Linked DNA regions of Homo sapiens: region 1 is linked to region 2. The links are contacts of gene promoters, found by promoter capture Hi-C in blood cells and fetal thymus (Javierre and others, 2016). All regions are on one chromosome and are shown on one strand. Each heading gives the region's core, a stretch centred on a gene start or on the middle of the fragment in contact. The rest is flanking DNA. Distances are from core to core; before and after follow the strand shown. Region 1 holds the start of LINC00469 (long intergenic non-protein coding RNA 469). Region 2 has its middle 65 kb from the start of SDK2.

Region 1 (3,485 bases), core at 712-3,211, 120 kb after region 2:
CTGGACACTCAAGGTGATGAGCTGCCCAGAGCACCCAAGACCCAGACTCCACCCAGGACTGTCCTCTCCTGGACCACCTGCCTGAAACTTCCATCCTGACCCTTCTCCACCTTCTCAATGGGACCTGGGGTGAGAGCCCAAGCTGGGAGCGCCGGCCTGGCATTGTGTAGTTTAGACAAGTCCTTGAAGCAGGGCAGGTGGGGGAATGGGGAGGAGTCGGGGGCTCAGGCCCCCATGTTCCTCCCCAGCACAGCCTCACCTGCTCTGCCTCAGAGTGACTCAGGACAAAATCCCCAGGTGGCTCTGATGGTACTTGAAGTGACAGAGGGAAGGAGGAATCTGGAATGGAGACCCCAGCCCCAGGCCCTTGAGCTCAACCCAGCACCAGCCCCCAGACCTGTTCACTCTTTGGCCTTCCAGGGCCAGCCCCAGGCTGGGCTGTCACTGATGTGGGTGAGCAGGAGTGGTCCCCGTTCCTCACAGGGGCTTCTCTCTATGCACACCTCACATCATCCCCCGACCTCCAGGCATAAACCAGCCTTGCAGCCCTGACTCCAGACCTGTCCAGAGAAAGTGCCACCTGCCTGGGGAGCTGATGCAGATGAGAGGGAAGGAGAGAGAGACAGTGTCCCCTGCACCATGCCCTGAACTTCCCAAGGGACCTTCATCAAGCTCCCCTGGGGGCTGTATTGTTAAAATGCACAGATTCTTGGACCTCGACTCTGGACTTCCAGAAGCGAAATCTCTGCGGGGGTGGAGGAATTGGGCACTGATTCTAATGAAGTCCCCAGGGCAATCTCACCTGCTTTAGAGCAGAGGTTGGTACCCTGGCTGCACATCAGAGTCTCATGGGAAATCTAAACACATCCGTTCCAGGGCCTCACCCCCAGACCAAGCAGACCAGTGTCAGGGCTGGACATCAGGCATTCGTATTTTGTAAAAAATGATTAAAATGTGCACCCAGGGTTGAGAACTGCTTCAGAATTTGCAGACCTCCAGCTGGGTCTGACCCAGGAAAACAGGAAACAAGAGAGATGGTGTCAGCTGGGGCCCTTCACTGGTGGGGCCAGGTGGGTGGGGGGAACATCCCCACGATCCAGGCGACCCCCACCGCTGGCCAGGCAACCTCATGGCTGAAGGCGAGGAGGGACGCAGGCACGAGGGCCTTGGCGTAAGGAAGCTGGCTCTGCAGTCAGGCCCTGCCCTGGGGCTGTTCAGATGCCCAGGAGGGCAGGTTTATGCGAATGAAGCAATTACAGAACCATTTAAAAGAGTGAGGGAACTTGGTCCAGAAATGCCTGTGGAGCTTTCAAAAGGGGTGAGTGACCTCATCCAGCCAAGAAAGGGTCTGGGAGAGAAGCTGGAGGCCGAGGTCTTCAGTCTAGGCTAGGGGAGGGGAGAGAACGTTTAAGAGGGTGGCAGGCATTCCTGTCCCAAGTCACCAACTGGGTAGCGCTCTTGTTTGTCTTATGCAAGAGTGTTTAGATAAGAACAGGCTTTTGCATTTCAAAAAGGAGCCTGTTCTTCCTCGCCTTGCTTCTTCCTGTGCTGAGTAAACGGAAGGCACACCCTTGTTTCCCTCCCTATTCACAGCTCCTCTGTCCGCCACAAAGACAACCTCCTCCCCTTCTGCCCTCGTCTTCTGCCTGTGGACATTCAAGGGACCCCGCTCCTCCTTCATCCTTTCTCTCCTGCACGAATGAATCGTTTCCCGTGAATCTGCTCTTTGAAAAACCCCTTCCTAACTTCCATCTCTCTTCCTCTGCTCTCTTTGATGCCATCGCTTCTTAAAAGGGAGGCCTAGACTCACTGCTGTCTCACTTTTGTACGTTTATTTTCATCATGGTAAAATATACATAGCATAATATTTACCATTTGAGCCCTTTTAAGGTGTACAATTCAGTGGCATTTACATTCAAAACATTGTGCAACCATCCTGATGATCTATTTCCAGAGCTTTTTTTTTTTTTTTTAAATCATCCCAAACAAATTCTGGAACTGTGAGATAATAATGTCCCATTCTTTTCTCCTCCCAGTTCCTGGTAACCTCCATTCTTTCTGTCTCTATGAATTTGCCTATTGTAGAAACCTCGTGTAAGTGACATCATTCCATATGGGGCCTTTGTGTCTGGCTTATTTCACCTAACATCATGTTGCAGCAAGGTTCATTTCATTTCTTTTTATGGCTGAATAATATTCCCTCGTACAGATGGACAGCAGGTGTTGACCTATTCATCGGTTGTCTATTCGGCCTCCACAATCCACTGTTTTCATCCCTTCTTGCTGTCTCTACTTCTATGACCCTGGCCTAAGTCACCATTTTCTTCCACCAGAGTGCTCAGTGGCCTCCTCTGAGATTTCACTCTTTTTTTTTTCTTTTAAACAGCGTTATTGAAATGTAATTCATATATTATGTAATTCTCCCATTTAAAGTGGACAATTCAGGCTACTCTGCCTATGGAGTGGCCATGCTTTTGTTTCTTTACTTCTCTAATAAGCTTGCTTTCACTTAAAAAAAAAAAGTATACAATTCAATGGTTGCTAGTATATTCCATGTAGCTGCAATCGTCACCGTGGTCCATTTTACAGCATTTGTATCACCTCAAAAAGAAGCTCTGACCCTTCAGCTATCTCCCCTCCCCAACGCTCACCCTTACAGCCCTAGGCAACTAGTAATCTACTTTCTGTCTCTAGAGATTTGCCTCTTCTGGGCATTTTGTCTAAATGGAATCATACAATCCGTGGTCTTTTGTGAATGGCTTCCTTCACTTATCGTGATGGTTCCCGGGTTCATTCATGCTGTCCTATCGGCACTTCATTCCTTTCTATGGCCAAATAACTACCTCATTGTATGGATTCATTGGTGGACATTTATGTCGTTTCTATCTTTGGGCTATTACAAATAATGCTGCTTTAAACATTTTGTACAGGTTTCTGTATGAATATATGTTTTCGTTTCTCGTGGGTCTATACAGAGGAGTGGAACTGTGGGTCACACGGTAACTCTGTGTAATCGTTTGAGGACCTGCAGGCCACAGTGGCTGTCCTGCCTCCTCTCTTGCCTCTTTCAAAACTCCTCTTCACAGAGCAGCTGATGCGATCTTTCAAAAATGAACTTCAAATCATGTTTCATCTTTCTTGTAAAATCCTTCAATGACTTCCCAGCGTTCTTAGAATAAAACAAACATCATCACCATGGTCTACAAGACCCTGTGGCTGGGCACCAACTCCTTCTGGGACCATCCCTGCCTGCCTGTAGGGCTCCCGCTCCTTTGGGCGTCCCGGCCGCTGCTCCAGCAGGCCTAGGAACTTTCTCGTGAAGTCATCTGCGCTGGCTCCTCCCTCTGCTGGAACAGTCTTCGCTCTTGTTTCAGCCTCCTGTGGACGCTGTAACCAATTGCCATCAACTGGGTGCCTTCAAACAACAGAAATGGCTTCTCTCATCATTGTGGAGGCCCAGCTCTAAAGTCAAGGTCTTGCCAGGG
Region 2 (3,338 bases), core at 578-3,077:
CCACGCTGGCTAATTTTTTTGTATTTTTAGTATAGATGGGGTTTCATCATGTTGGTCAGCTGGTCTCGAACTCCTGACCTCAGGTAATCCACCCACGTTGGCCTCCCAAAGTGCTGGGATTACAGGCGTGAGCCACCACGCCTGGCCAGCTGACTTTCATAGAGATGTTCAAGGGGCTGCTTTGCCTTCTGGTTTCAGTTGGGGTAGACCAGTGGAAGGCATGACTGGAGATCAGAAAGCAAGAGGAGAGGGAACTGGAGTCATGGTTTCCCTAGGTCCCTCCTTGCAGGTACTGGGGTTGTCCACGCCTTTCTGCCTAAGCTGTCCTCTTATGCATCTGCTCTCGCCAATATTCTGGTACCTGCTCCCATCCATTACTGTTCATACCTGGAACCCTGGGTTGCTACACCATTCCTGGAGGGCTTCCCCTGCATTCAGCTCTCCCCACCCACCTATCTGAGCCTGCCCTCTGCTTCTCACCAGCACTGGCTGCTAGCCCAGCCCATGCCTTTCACCAGGTTCTCTGCCTGTCTCCTCAGACTGAAACATCATCTGACTTGCTATTTCGTTCTCAACTCTAGCTTTGCTCCTGGAAAAGTGTCCTTTTGGTCCCCATCAGTTCTGTGCTATGTAGCCATGGGCAAGCCCTTTCCCTCTGCTGTGCACTCCACCATTGTTCCAGATCCCAGCCCAGGTACATGTCCTGGCTCCCACTTGCCCAGATGAGCATATACTGACCTGATACTAACTGGAGACTCTTCTGTCTTTAGAGGATGGAGGAGGGAACCGAAAGAGTGGAGGAAGAAAAATACAAAGAAGTGCAAAGATGGGAGATGGATGGGACTCTCTCTGAATAGCCCCAACTTCCCTCTGGAGAAAATGGACAGTACCAGTGTCCTGGTCAGCCTTGGTACCCACTGGGTTTTCTCATTTGCACTGGGAGATGACACATCTTCTCTGCTTCAGCTCAGGATTACTACTTCCCGATCTCAGCCAGGTCCAAGAAGCAGGGATTCAGGACTTAGCATGTTTGCTTCTGTTGTTGCTCCTAATTTTCATAGTAGCCAAGCAGAGTAGACATTATGGTCCCTGTTTTACAGTTGAGGAAACTGAGGCGCAGACATTAAGCATCTTGTCCAAGGTCATGTGTTATTCCTATCAGGACTTGGACCAGAATCCTATCTCCTGACTTCAAATTCCAGGCTGTTTCTCTGATGCTGTAGTTCCTAGTTTCTGCTCTGAACTGACTTGCGTTCTATACGCTGAACCGAGGAGTCTGTTCTACAGGTTAATGGGATAATGACTGTCTTTCCTCAATTTGCAGATAGAATACATTAGTACATATAATTTCTTTGATTATTCTGTTGTTTTCCACATTTTTGTAGAGTCTTTTGGCACTTATCATCCTATCGTCAATACCTGAATCTCATATAAAATGGGATGTGATTTAGCGTGGCATTACACAGGTAACTCCAATACCTCAATAGCTCTCAGTGTGTTCTGCACAGACTAGGATGTACTTGCCCCATGCTTTAGGCCCAGATTCATGATTTGAGAACCACTTTTCCATGATTTTTTCAGTCCAGAAAGGCTAATCTAGACATTTTAAATTCTAGCATGACTAAACAGCAATGACTCCAGAAGTTCTGTGTTCATGCAGACTCCAGATGTGGGTCTGCCCCTGGCCTCCCGGGGGAGAGAACTGGGTTCCATGAGTTATGCCTTCAACAGGCACAGGAGTGGGGACTGTTGACTGCTTGCTGGTAATTTACACACCCTGACCCAGACCTGGCCTCCAGCAGAAGAAAAGAAGCTGATTCCAACCTGTCTTGGTTTTGGCTCTCCTTAGAACATCAAAGGTGTATGAAAGAGGCTGAGCTTGCCTCATCTCCCCCGCCTGTGTTAAGTGGTGATCAAGATGGCATTAGAGATGATCACATCATATTATTTAAACATGATTTTAAATAGCTGTAACAATGGCCAAGCTCCATCTGCAGACCTTGACCGCTGCCCAGCAAAGGGCAGTTGGTTGGCTTACACGATGAGAGCATTGCTGGCACGCAGGCTTGTCCGTCATCCTCGCTTGCTGGAACTCAGCAGCGAGTCTCTCTGAAGGTGACACAGGCTTTGGTGGGTGGGGTGTGGAGCACGGCCGGCTGCACCGCTGGAAGTGGGGCGGAGAGGAGCCTGTTACCCGGGAAGTTTAGGGGCATATGGAAGCAGTGACCCCTTCTGGCCAATGGAGGAATGACATAAATTTGCTAGCAAGGGAAGACAGGCGGAGAGGTGAACGGCCAGGGAGGCCTTGGCGGGGAAGAATGGACTAATGAGAATATCTATTATGACTCGTCTCTTCAGTTATTCCCTAAGTGGCTGTGTCATCCTATGCCAGCCATCAGAGGGAGGCAGAATAAAAGTGTGTGTCCAGGGAGGATGTGAGCATGACCATGAACCCTGGCCACTCTCATCTGGAAAGGGCTAGAAGGGAATGGGGTAGTGAGGACCAGCTGTGGAAGCCTCAGGGACAATGGGACATGCATCTGAGAATCTTGGGAGTGGCCAATGCTCCTGGTACTGGGAGGCTTGGGGTGCCGGAGGTCAGCAGCCACCCCTCCTCGAGCTCTGTCAGCCAGGGATTCCTGGAGATAGTTTCCACCGCCTTTGGAGAGGTGGGCCATCCTGGAGGCTGGTGTGAAACAGAGTCCTCTCCCTGTTCTGTCCTAGAGTCGGACAGAACAGAGTCAGGCTCAGCTCTTCTCAGCTGCTGACCTGCTCTGTGGTCAAAGACGGTAGCCCCTCCCAGCTTGGGTGTGCTCCCCTACAAAGCAAAGCAAAGCAAAGCAAAGCAAAGCAAAGCAAAGCAAAGCAAACAAAGCATGTAGCCCCTCCCAGCTTAGATGTGCTCCCTGCAAAGCGGGCAGGGTATAGGGCTTTATGGAGAAGACCCGTTGATATCATGGTTTCCAAAGGGCCTGACAGTAGGTGCTCATTACGACTCCCTTGCTAGCCCTGTAGGCCGGTCATTTCAGACTGCTCCGCAAGCCCCCCATGCCTCCCCGCCTTTGCACACACCATTCCTTCTTCTTGGACAACCTCTCCTTTCCTGGCCCATCTGGTCTACCTGGTCTACTCGGGCACATTCAACTTGTTCTTCAGGGCTTGGTTCAAGGCCTTCCTGGACTGCTGCCCTGATCGCCATGCAGAGTTAACCACTTCCTCATCTATGCGCCTCTAACACTGTAGCTATACCAAGCGCACTGTGGTACTTACTTATTTGCATAATAACATCATTACATTCTAAAAATGACAGCAGCTATGAATTGTTGGGCACTTTCTGT

What was found. Contacts are between HindIII fragments. The CHiCAGO score rates a contact against its expected background, and 5 or more counts as called.
Region 1: a contact is called between the fragment with the promoter of LINC00469 here and a fragment that was not itself captured in region 2, in 1 of 17 cell types (non-activated CD4 T cells). The highest score is 5.6, in non-activated CD4 T cells.

Annotation. Positions count from the first base shown.
Region 1 is chr17:73,826,576-73,830,060 of GRCh38, forward strand. It overlaps LINC00469 (long intergenic non-protein coding RNA 469), which reads right to left and starts at 1,962. Exons shown (of 4, transcript NR_027146.1): 1 at 1,873-1,962. RefSeq lists enhancers at 1,299-1,808, 2,799-3,300, 3,301-3,485. The HindIII fragment of the contact is 4,592 bases long and covers 1-2,496 here.
Region 2 is chr17:73,708,118-73,711,455 of GRCh38, forward strand. No RefSeq gene overlaps it. Among named protein-coding and RNA genes, the nearest start is that of SDK2, 65 kb to the left of the region's middle. The HindIII fragment of the contact is 4,322 bases long and covers 1-3,338 here.